Linked DNA regions of Homo sapiens: region 1 is linked to region 2. The links are contacts of gene promoters, found by promoter capture Hi-C in blood cells and fetal thymus (Javierre and others, 2016). All regions are on one chromosome and are shown on one strand. The core of a region is centred on a gene start or on the middle of the fragment in contact, and the rest is flanking DNA. Distances in the headings are between cores, read along the strand shown.

Region 1 (5,447 bases), core at 1,539-4,038, 90 kb after region 2:
CCCTCGTGGTGTCAGTGTCGCGATCTGGGCTCACTGCAACCCGTGGTGGAGCCTTTACATAGGAGTAGGTTGTGTTGGAGCAAGCAGAGGCCCTCCCAGGTTTGCCCTCCTGAGGACAGTCTTCAGAGGCATCACGGGACCAGGTCAAGGCGTCTGTGTGCCCCAGAGCCAGCCACAGGGACTGCGAGTGGGCTCTGGGAACGGGGGATATTCCTACCATTCTCATCCTCCAGTGTCCCTCATTTGAAAGGGACGCACACTGCACCCCCACTCTGCCTCACGCTGTTTGCTGTGTTGATGGAATGGGACAGAAGGGAGGCCTTGGCACGTTTGTTACCGAGCCAGTTGATTAAAGGGGGCTCTGAAGGAAGGGATCAAATGCCTTAAAAGTGAGAAGTCCCCACCCAGACCATCACCATGACACTGCCTTCTAGGTGTGAGAGAGCACTGTAAACCCCTCTGGGCTGGACCTGGAGTGTTTCCATGCATTCTCTGTGTTTCCGTTTCAGCGTGGGATCGAAGGGACAGTACCTTATGTCACAACGGATTACAATTTTAAACTTCCTGGAGCATCAGAGAAAATTGGAGCAAGAGAACCTGAGGAGGCACATAAAGAGAAACCATACCGAAGACCTAAGTTCTGTCGAAAAATGAAGTGATGCTCGCGTTTTTAATAAGGGAAGAAACTTTCCTACCAGAAAGCTTTGTCTCAAGCCTGACCACAAGAGACATGATGGAGTTTCATGGCCATGAATGGTGCCCTTATTAGCAACAGTGTTTTTTGTGTAATTCGTGAATGTCATATAGTAGTCTTAAGTTTCTCTTTTAAAGCTGCATGAGCTAGAATTTGTTCTAGTCTTCTGTGTGATACTCATACTTGCTGTCCAGAGGGAGTAAAACAGCAGAGAACAGTTTGTGTGCCATTAAAACAGAGATTCCTCAGAAAGTTCTTCAGGGACCTGGTTATTAGAATCAGGATAAAAATAAGGAAACTGGGGCCATTACAATGTACCGAGAAGGAAGGAAGAAGGCCGACCTGCAGGATCTCAAGCATAATGGATACAAGGGCTCGCCACGGGCCTTGCCTGAGCCATGTGCAGAGCTGGGGTCCAGCGGTCTGCTTCCTTGGAGCCAGTGTGGATGGTTACAGCCCATCCATTTGGTGCAGTTGTACTTGGTCTGTTATATTCAATCAAGGTTTAATAGATAGGGCTGGGCATGGTGGCTCATGCACACCTGTAATCCTAGCACTTTGGGAGGCTGAGGCGGGAGGATTGCTTGAGCCTCGGAGTTCCAGGCTGGAGTACACCAACTACTCCAGCCTGAGCGACAGAGTAAGACCTTATCTTTTAAAAAAGAAAAGAAAAATTTAAACGGGTTTGATAGATATAAATTTGGACCCAAGAGCCCTTCCTTTTTTTTAATCCTGAGGTTTTATGCTGAGGAAATTTCTTTCAAATCTGGAAAACCTCGGGGCCAGGCGCAGTGGCTCACGCCTGTAATTCCAGCACTTTGGGAGGCCAAGGCAGGCGGTTCACGAGGTCAGGAGATTGAGACCATCCTGGCTAACACAGTGAAACTCCGTCTCTACTAAAAATACAAAAAACTAGCTGGGCGTGGTGGTGGGCGCCTATAGTCCCAGCTACTCAGGAGGCTGAGGCAGGAGAATGGCATGAACCCAGGAGGCGGAGCTTGCAGTGAGCCGAGGTCACGCCACTGCACTCCAGCCTGGGCAACAAGAGCAAGACTCCATCTCAAAAAAAAAAAATAATAATCTGGAAAACCTCTTCTGGGGGCTCTTATAAAAGTAGATTTGTCCAAATTGACTTCTGATCTGAGGCCAGAGACAACCACAGGGCAGAGCTGGAGACTGGGCTGTTTTGAAGGAAGAAGGACTGGCAGACCAGCTCTTGGGAAAGCTCCATTATTGCCTGTGGGAGGCTGGACCTGAACTTGCACCTATGAACAACCCTGCCATTTAGAGCTTTTTCCTGGGGGTGCCGGCGGCTGGTGACCAGACTGCCATTCTCCACGTTCTCCCTGGTGCTTCCGACTCTGTCCTCTAGGTTGGAAGTGGTTTGTGTAAACGGGTGATGGGACCAGGTCACATCATTTCTGCATTTAAGACAGCAGGATACTTCCTGGGGCTGAGGTTCAAACTGGTATTGTGACCACCGCTTTGACAGAATTCCATCTTCCCAGCATGATCACATTGTAAGACTATTAGGATGTGTGGGTTTTAACACTTATATACACTTATACAACTGTTGGTTATCATTGTCTTTAGTATTTTACAGTGGCCCCTCAGCACCTCTTAGACCCAACAGCAAAGGACTTAAAATAAGCACAGGAAACCTTGCTATGGTGATTAGTTTTGATACCTTTGAGACAATTGAGTCTAGCTTCTTAGTTGCCCCTTATTTATGTTGAAATCTGGCTCATTCATATGATGTTTTACTGTGCTGGCCTTGTAAAGAATTTTAAGACAATCCATCACCATCAATGTTTTGCCTTTCTCCACTTTCGTGTATCTTACAGTTATACTCACTGGAGGTCATTTGCAGCAAGGCTCTGGAAGAATGAAACTGGTGCCCTGTAATTGCATTTGCATTCAATCTAGGTTTGCCTTCAGGCTTTAAATGCGGCCTGTATGAAGGTCAAGTCTTTTTCTTCAGTCCCTATCAGTAAAGAAAAATCGTTGCCTCTAGAGGGAGCTATCAGCTGTGGGTCAGGTGGCCGTACTGGGGCTAGAGTTGGCCCAGGAAGCTGTACAGGGTTTAGGGAAGGAGGTTCGGAGACAGGGAGCCAAGGCCTCTGTCAGGTCTAGCTTGTGCCGGTCAGACCTGCAGCAGCACCATTCTCCAGGATGACAATTCATCCCATTATTGATGGCAGTGGCCTTTTTATCCTTTTTTTTTTTTTTTTTTTTTTTTGAGATGGAGTTTCGCTCTTGTTGCCCAGGCTGGAGTGCAGTGGCGCAATCTGGGCTCACTGCCACCTCCGCCTCCCGGGTTCAAGTGATTCTCTTGCCTCAACCTCCCGAGTAGCTGGGATTACAGGCATGCGCCACCATGCCTGGCTGATTTTCTATTTTTAGTAGAGAAGGGGTTTCACCATGTTGGCCAGGCTGGTTTTGAACTCCTGTCCTCAGGTGATCCACCTGCCTTGGCCTCCCAAAGTGTTGGGATTACAGGCATGAGCCACCGCACCCGGCTGGTGGCAGTGGCTTTAAGGGCATTTAGAAGAAGGACAAGATTGGACTTTTTATCATTTCCACAGTCTGTTATGGGTCAGATTAGGTAGTAAGGAGTTCTCCATTGGAGCTATTCTTTTTTTTTTTTCTTTTTTTTTGAGACAGAGTCTCGCTCTGTCACCCAGGCTGGGGTGCAGTGGCACGACCTTGGCTCACTACAGCCTCTCCCCTCCCGGGTTCAAGTGATTCTTCTGCCCCAGCCTCCCAAGTAGCTGGGATTACAGGTGAGCGCCACCATGCCTGGCTAATTTTTATATTTTTAGTAGAGATAGGGTTTCACCGTATTGGCTAGGCTGGTCTCGATCTCCTGACCTTGTGATCCGCTTGCCTCGGCCTCCCAAAGTGCTGAAGCAATTTCTTTTTTTTTTTTTTTTTTGAGACAGAGTCTAGCTCTGTCGCCCAGGCTGGGGTGCAGTGGAGTGATCTCGGCTCACTGCAACTTCCGCCTCCCAGGTTTAAGCGATTCTCCTGCCTCAGCCTCCTGAGTAGCTGGGATTACAGGCGTATGCCACCACGCCCAGCTAATTTTTGTATTTTTAGTAGAGACAGGGTTTCACCATGTTGGTCAGGCTGGTCTCGAACTCCTGACCTCGTGATCCGCCCGCCTTGGCCTCCGAAAGTGCTGGGATTACAGGCGTGAGCCACTGCGCCTGGCCTGAAGCTATTCTTTACAAAAGCTCTTAGTTTTTGTTTGTTTGTTTGTTTTTTTCTTTTGCGACGGACTCTCTGTCGCCAAGGCTGGAGTGCAGTGGCCTGATCTCAGGTCACTGCAACCTCTGCCTCCTGGGTTCAAGCGATTCTCCTGCTTCAGCCTCCCAAGTAGCTGGGATTACAGGCGCCTGCCACCACACCCAGCTAATTTTTGTATTTTTAGTAGAGATGGCGTTTCACTTTATTGGTCAGGCTGGTCTCGAACTTCCAACCTCAGGGGATCCGCCTGCCTTGGCCTCCCAAGGTGTTGGGATTACAGGCATAAGACACTGTGCCTGGGCCTCTTAGTAATTTTTGTATGTAATTTTCAAAGTATCCGGGATTACAGGCGCCCGCCACTACACTAGCTAATTTTTTTTGTATTTTTAGTAGAGATGGGGTTTTACTATGTTGGCTAGGCTGGTCTCGAGCTCCTGACCTCGTGATCCGTCCACCTTGGCCTCCCAAAGTGCTGGGATTACAGGCGTGAGCCACCGCGCCCGGCCTAGGTCATTTGTTTTTGGGTTTGGATGGCAAGATCATGGATAAGACAGCAGGCTTTGATTATAGAGCTCTGAGTTCAAATCCTGGCTCTACCACTTGTCAGTGGTGTAACTTGGAGGAAGATGCTTAGCCTGAGCCTGTTTTATGTTTTGAAGATTGGGTAATTGTCCTTCCTTCAGTGTTCCTGGGTGAGGAGTAAGTGAAGTCATGTCTATAAGAGATGTAGCACAGTCTCCGGCATGTAGAAACGGTCAGTAACTCCTAGTGTGTAGCTAGCCTCTGATGAGATGGTAAACTCAGGAGGCTGGCACCACGGCTGTGCTACTCACGGTCATGCTGGAGGGATGCAGAAACTAAATGAATCCACAGCTACTTACTCATCTTGCCTCTGGCAGGTTCACCTTAAAATTGTTGCTACCAAGCTTCCTGTGGTCAAAGAGCCCTTGAGGAAGCAAGCTCCACGGCCACCATAGATAACCCATTCCTGAAAGTTTTTCATAAACCCCCACTTGTTGCTTTTAAAATTTTATAAGCAGCTTACACATGTAGAAAATGATCCTCCAGCCCACCACCACATAGTAATCACTGACACTGTGAGGTGTCTCAGCTGGGGTTCTGCTGTGTGTGTGTGTATTTTACAAAATATGTATGGTTTCTGTTCAGCTCTTTTCAGTTAACAGATGAACTTTTGTATCATTAAATATTTTTGAAAACATGAATTTAGTTGTGTAATTTTATGTAGATAGGTCATTTTATTCCAGGTAATCACTTAAATGCTTAGAAGAAACTATAGTGAAAAAACACTGGGAGGAAAAAAAATGTTGAAAGGCGGTTAATGAAGTGTGGAGACTCCAGCAAATGCTTGTGATGTGTTTGTTTGTTTGTTTTGTTGTGCCCTTTTTTTTCTTTTTGAGACAGAGTCTCTTTTGCCCAGGCTGGAGTGCGATGGTGCAATCTCGGCTCACTGCAATTTCCACCTCCCAGATTCAAGCAATTCTCC
Region 2 (5,323 bases), core at 1,721-4,220:
ACAGAAACAAAAGGAAGTAAGCTGGAACTTTTGTAGTCAATCACTCAAAAAATACCGTTAGATTTACACAGTCCACAAACAAGATACGGTAAGTTCAGGTCAAGAAATAACACTATTTTCAGAGAGCAGAAAGAGGAGTATTAAGACTTTATGCCAAGAATGCTGGGAAATCAGCTGGGAGATAAAAACTTCTACAAAAGTCTATTTCTTAGTGCTCATGTGGCATTTTCTGACTTTATCTATTAGTTTCCACAGGCCTATCAGGCGAAGCTCTAATAACTACTTTTTTGCTACAGATTTTCCATTCTGAGTATGAACTGCTGCAGCAGCAGCTGGAACTGATGTATGTTAAGTGATTTCAAAAATCAACCACTCGCCGGGCGCGGTGGCTCTCGTCTGTAATCCCAGCACTTTGGGAGGCCGAGGCGGGCGGATCACGAGGTCAGGAGTTCGAGACCAGCCTGACCAACATGGTGAAACCCCGTCTCTACTAAAAATACAAAAATTAGCCGGGCGTGGTGGCGTGCACCTGTAGTCCCAACTACTCAGGAGGCTGAGGCAGGAGAATCGCGTGAACCCGGAGGCGGAGGTTACAGTGAGCCAAGATCGCGCCACTGCACTCCAGCCCGGTAGACAGAGCTAAGATTCCAACTCAAAAAAAAAAAAAAAAAAAAATCAACCACTCATTCTCCAGAGCTCTCGGAGACCTGGACCCTGGAGTTCACTCCTGGCTGACCCTGCCAAGCTAGCGCCACCTGAGGACCCCTCTCTCGTGCTCAGAGGGTCCCCTCCACTGTCCCAGCCAGTCGGGATGCCAGGCACCCAACTATCTCAACTCACAATAAACCAAGAACCTTACTGCGAAGCTTAGTCTTACATTTAAACGGAATAGTGGAGGTTTTTGCTCGCGGGTCCCAGCCCCATTCCATCTAGAAACACCCATCACAAAAAGATATTTTCTCCTGAGAGAAGCACGGAGAGATGGAGCTCTTATTTGCTCCTAAGCAAAACAAGTGTGCCGTATTGCTGTTTATTCGCCCGGCACGTTCCCTGAGGTTCCTTTCAGTGCCTTGTCCGACCCACCCCCATCCTTCCCGAGGTGCTGTTACCCGGCCGCCACTCTGCTGGGGGAGAGCCGGTGGGGAAATGGGGGGCAGGGGTCTCGGGCCGCCCCTCCCGCCGCGAGGAGCAGGCGTGCGGCCCGCGGGTTTTCTTTCGAGAAAGTCGGTGCCCTTAGAAAATTATTTTCTCAACCTGGTTCAAGCAAACCTTCTCCTCTCCCACCCCCTTGGACCCCAGGGCCGCCCACGGAGCGGAGGCGAAGGCCCGCGTTGACCGCGCTCCCCGCACTGGCGAGCCTGCCCAGCCACGGGAACCGCGGGCCGCCACCCGGGCCTCCAACTCCCGCGAAGAACTTTTCTTTCGGCGGGGAACCAGCAGAAGTGGGTCAAAAACCCGAATGCCAAGTGGAGGGCGGCGACGGCCTCGGGCCGGGGGCGCGCGGGAGGCACCGGCGCGGGGACTGGGGGTTCCACGCCGCCCCCACACGGCCCACGCCGCCCGCCCCCCCGGCCGCCTCCTCGGAAAGCAGATGGCGGAGCGGCCCCCACCCGCCCTCCCGCGGCAGCCGCCCCCCGCGACACTCGGCCCCCGAAGGTGCGGGGCCCATCCCGCGAGTATGTGTGAGGGGGGTGCGCCAGGCAGGATTCCGGGGTCCCAGGCCTGGGGAGGCCCTGCGAACCCCCGGGGGCGGCAGCGAGACCGGCGGGCTCCGGCGCCGCCTCCCCTCCCCCACCCGCCCGCGGTCGCCGGACCCGCACCCCCGACCCCAACGAGCCTCGGCTGGGGGGAGGGGACCGCGCGGGGGGGAGGCCGGGAGCCCCGAGGGCCGATCCCCGGAAGGAGGGGGAGTGAGCCGGGGCGGAGCCAGCAAAGCCCGCGGGCGGGGGGCGGGGGCCCGAAGAGAGAGGCCAGCGCGCCGGGGGGCGGTGGGTGGGGGCAGGACTCGGGTCCCCAGAGCGGGTGGGGCCCCCGGAGGACGCGGCCCCCGAGAGCCGTAGGGGGCGGGGGCCGACTGGGCCCCGCGCGGAGTCAGGGGGCGGGGCGCGGGCCACCGGGCCCGGGGGATCGGGGGAGCAGCCGGGGGCCTCGGGAGCCGACCCCGGTCCGAGGGGGGCCTAAAACTCCTCGAGAGCAACCGGAGCCAGGGGCGGGCGGCGGCTCGGACCGCGTCCCCGGGGGCGGGGAAAGAGTAAGCAGGCCGGCGGGGAGGGGCTGGGGGCGCCGACAGGTCCCAGGTCGACGCGAGGCCGGAGAGGGGCGGCCCGGGGGAGAGAAATAGGCGCAACGGCCCTGGGGAAAGGGCGCGGGGAGGACGCGGAGGTCCGCGGAGGGGACGCGGAGGCGAGGCCCGGCGGAGAGGACCGAGCGCGGGCCCGAGCAGGGGGCGGGGGTTGGGCTCCCGGGGGGGCCGACGAGGGGAAAGCGGGGGAAGGGGAGGGCGGCGCTCCGGGCGACCGGGGGTCTGGCTGCCTGAGGACGGCAGGATCGCGGAGGGGGTGGTCGGGGGCGATTCGGACGCACAGCTTCACTCACCTCCGGGTGGAAGGCGGCGGCGCAAGAGTCAGAGTCCATGTTCCGGGCGGGGGGCGGCGGCGGCTGCGAGAGTGCAGGAGCTGGGATGCTGGAGCGGGGCCGCCCGGGGCTGGGGGCTCGGGCGGCTGCGCAGGGCGAGGGCGGACCCGGGAGGGGTCGCCCGGGCTGGAGGTGATGGGGGGCTCAGCGCGTCGCTTCTCAAGCTCTGTGACCCCGGACTGGCGGTTCCACCGCCGACCGGAGTGGACGATGCAGCTCCCGCGGCGGTAGAGGCGGGAGAGTGGCTGCAGGGGGCGGCGGCGGCGGCGGTGAGCGGGAACCCGACCGGCTCCCCGACCTGACGCCCAGTTCGGCTCGTGTCTCGGGAGGGAGGGCGGGAGAGCCGGGAGGCCTGTCGGGAAATGTAGTCTGGGTGGCGACTGGAAGCCAGCGGCGAGGGGGCGTGGCGCGGGAGGCGGGCGCGGTGCCTTGTGGGAGTGGTAGTCCAAGGCCCCGCCAATACTGCGCACAAAGGAAACCTTGGGGACTCCAACCCCCATGAGGCTCCGCGGCGGCGGCCCCGGTGTGTGGAGGCGGGTCTTCTGGACTCGAGGCCGCGCGAGCGGGGGAGGTGCGGGGGCCCGCGCCGGCTCGGCCGCGGGGGGAGGGGCAGTGTGAGCGGTAGCGCCTTGGTCTCGGCGGGCGCGGGGGCGGGAGTCGCTGCGGCGGTGGGGGCGGGGCTGACGGCCCGGGTTGCGAAGGGCGGCGGCGGCTGGCACCTACCCTTCCTCGTCTCCTACTTGGGGTTCGCGCCCCTTTGTGGGGCGGGGGTCCCCGAGGCCTGGCCGGGAGTAGGGGCGGCAGGGGCGGGGACGCTGACGTCGCGGCCGCCCCGGGCATCGCTCCCCGCTCCCCGCTCCCCGCTGAGGGCGGAGTCGCCGCCCGGCCCCCGCTCCAGGCCGGGCTCAGCGAAGTTGTTTTCGCGGCTGCGGGCTTCGTGCGGCTCCCTGCTCCGGGCCCGCGGGGCCGGGACTGGACCGGGCTCTTCTCTAGGCATCTGCGGGATTCACTCGAGGTGGCCGGGTTCGTGCATTAAAAACACCGGGCCAGCGTTGTCAGTGTTCTAAAGAGGTGTGCGTTCAGTTTGCTTTCTGTTGCCGCCTAAGCCTAACCTTGGGACCGGCCGTTTTCCCACTCTCCTGAATATCCTCCGGCCCGCAGGGCGAGGCGGAGACGCGGTGTTTGGCGCTGGCATCGACTGGTACTTGTTTAGTGGTGTTTAACTGGGATGGGCAGTGTGTAAACGCTGGACCGCAGAGTATCCGACAGCTGTACGTGTGGAAGGCTGGCCGGACACGGTGGGGACTGCCCCTATGCGGTGACCAAAAGGCGGTCTGACGGGAACATTTTTAATATTCGAAAGTGGGGGAAAAAGGTAAGTACAAAACGCAGATGATTCAGTAACCTGTTTGGTAGCTTCGAAGAAGTTAAAGGGGAGTGACACAAAATTGAAAATTCAAATTAGAAAACGAACTCTTGGAGATACTAGTAAGATATTTGACAGGCGCCGAATGCTCCATCAAGCTGGCTGTTGCTATTTCAAGGGTTATGATCATTCTGATGAAGATATTTAATAGTTAGGAGATGGTGTTAATCTTAGAAATACTTCTCTGAGCGGCCGGGCGCGGTGGCTCGCGCCTGTATTCCCAGCACTTTGGGAGGCCGAGGCGGGTGGATCACGAGGTCAGGAGTTCGAAACCAGCCTGACCAACATGGTGAAACCCCGTCTTTACTAAAAATACAAAAATTAGATGGGCGTGGTGGCGGACACCTGTAATCCCAGCTACTCGGGAGGCTGAGGCGGGAGAATTGCTTGAACCCGGGAGGCGGAGCTTGCAGTGAGCCGAGATCGTGCCACTGCACTCCAGCCTGGGCGACAGAGCGAGACTCTGTCTCAAAAAAAAAAAAAAAAATACTTCTCTGAGCCTCAGTTTCCTAAGCTGTTAAATTTTAGCGTAGTGCCTGGCTAAATAAATGGTAGCTTACTGTTGTTGTTGTTGTTGTTGTTTTATTATTTCTGCAATATTGTAGCCCATTGGAGGGCTTCCCAAAGGTGATAAATTGAGGTACTTTACAAGATAAAACATGAAATTACTGATTAAAACAGAGACATTGGACTTGGCCCATCGAGACTTGATTAACAACTTCTTATACAATTGCACAGATGATTTAGCCAGATTTGGAATGTTACCTGGTTACTGTGACCAAAGCAGATGCCCCGAAGTTAGCCTGTATTGCCCAAGGTCATATTCACAAGGAGCAACTCGTTTTGCCAGAATAAGAAACACTGCTAAGGTGTTGATCCCGTTGGTAGTTTAAAAATGTAAATACCAAAAAGAATAATTCTTTTTTTTTTTGGAGACAGAATCTCCCTCTGTCGCCAGGCTGGAGTACAGTGGCGCCATCTCAGCTCACTGCAACCTCCACCTCCCGGGTTCAAGCGATTCTCCTGCCTCAGCCTCCCAAGTAGCCTGGACTACCAGCGCCCACCACCACGCCCAGCTAGTTTTTGTATTTTTAGTACAGACAGGGTTTCACCATGTTGGCCAGATGGTCTTGATCTCTTGACCTCGTGATCCGCACACCTAGGCCTCCCAAAGTGCAGGGATTACAGGCGTGAGCCACCGCGCCTGGCCAAGAATAATTATTAGAGGTGAAACCCAAGTGAAAGAAGAGGGATTTTTTTTTT

The links. The method cuts DNA at HindIII sites, captures the fragments that hold promoters and counts their contacts. A CHiCAGO score of 5 or more calls a contact.
Region 1: a contact is called between a fragment that was not itself captured here and the fragment with the promoter of PHF13 in region 2, in 3 of 17 cell types (neutrophils, naive CD4 T cells and erythroblasts). The highest score is 6.0, in neutrophils.

The regions. Positions count from the first base shown.
Region 1 is chr1:6,521,066-6,526,512 of GRCh38, reverse strand. It overlaps NOL9 (nucleolar protein 9), which reads left to right. Exons shown (of 12, transcript NM_024654.5): 12 at 510-5,166. The coding sequence ends at 659. Among named protein-coding and RNA genes, the nearest start is that of NOL9, 31 kb to the left of the region's middle. The HindIII fragment of the contact is 4,167 bases long and covers 705-4,871 here.
Region 2 is chr1:6,611,378-6,616,700 of GRCh38, reverse strand. It overlaps PHF13 (PHD finger protein 13), which reads right to left and starts at 2,970. Exons shown (of 4, transcript NM_153812.3): 1 at 2,596-2,970. The coding sequence starts at 2,634. It overlaps LOC107984913 (a long non-coding RNA gene), which reads left to right and starts at 3,314. Exons shown (of 2, transcript XR_001737882.3): 1 at 3,314-4,009. RefSeq lists silencers at 1,782-2,241, 2,382-2,471, 2,642-3,421, 3,472-3,521. The HindIII fragment of the contact is 6,383 bases long and covers 869-5,323 here.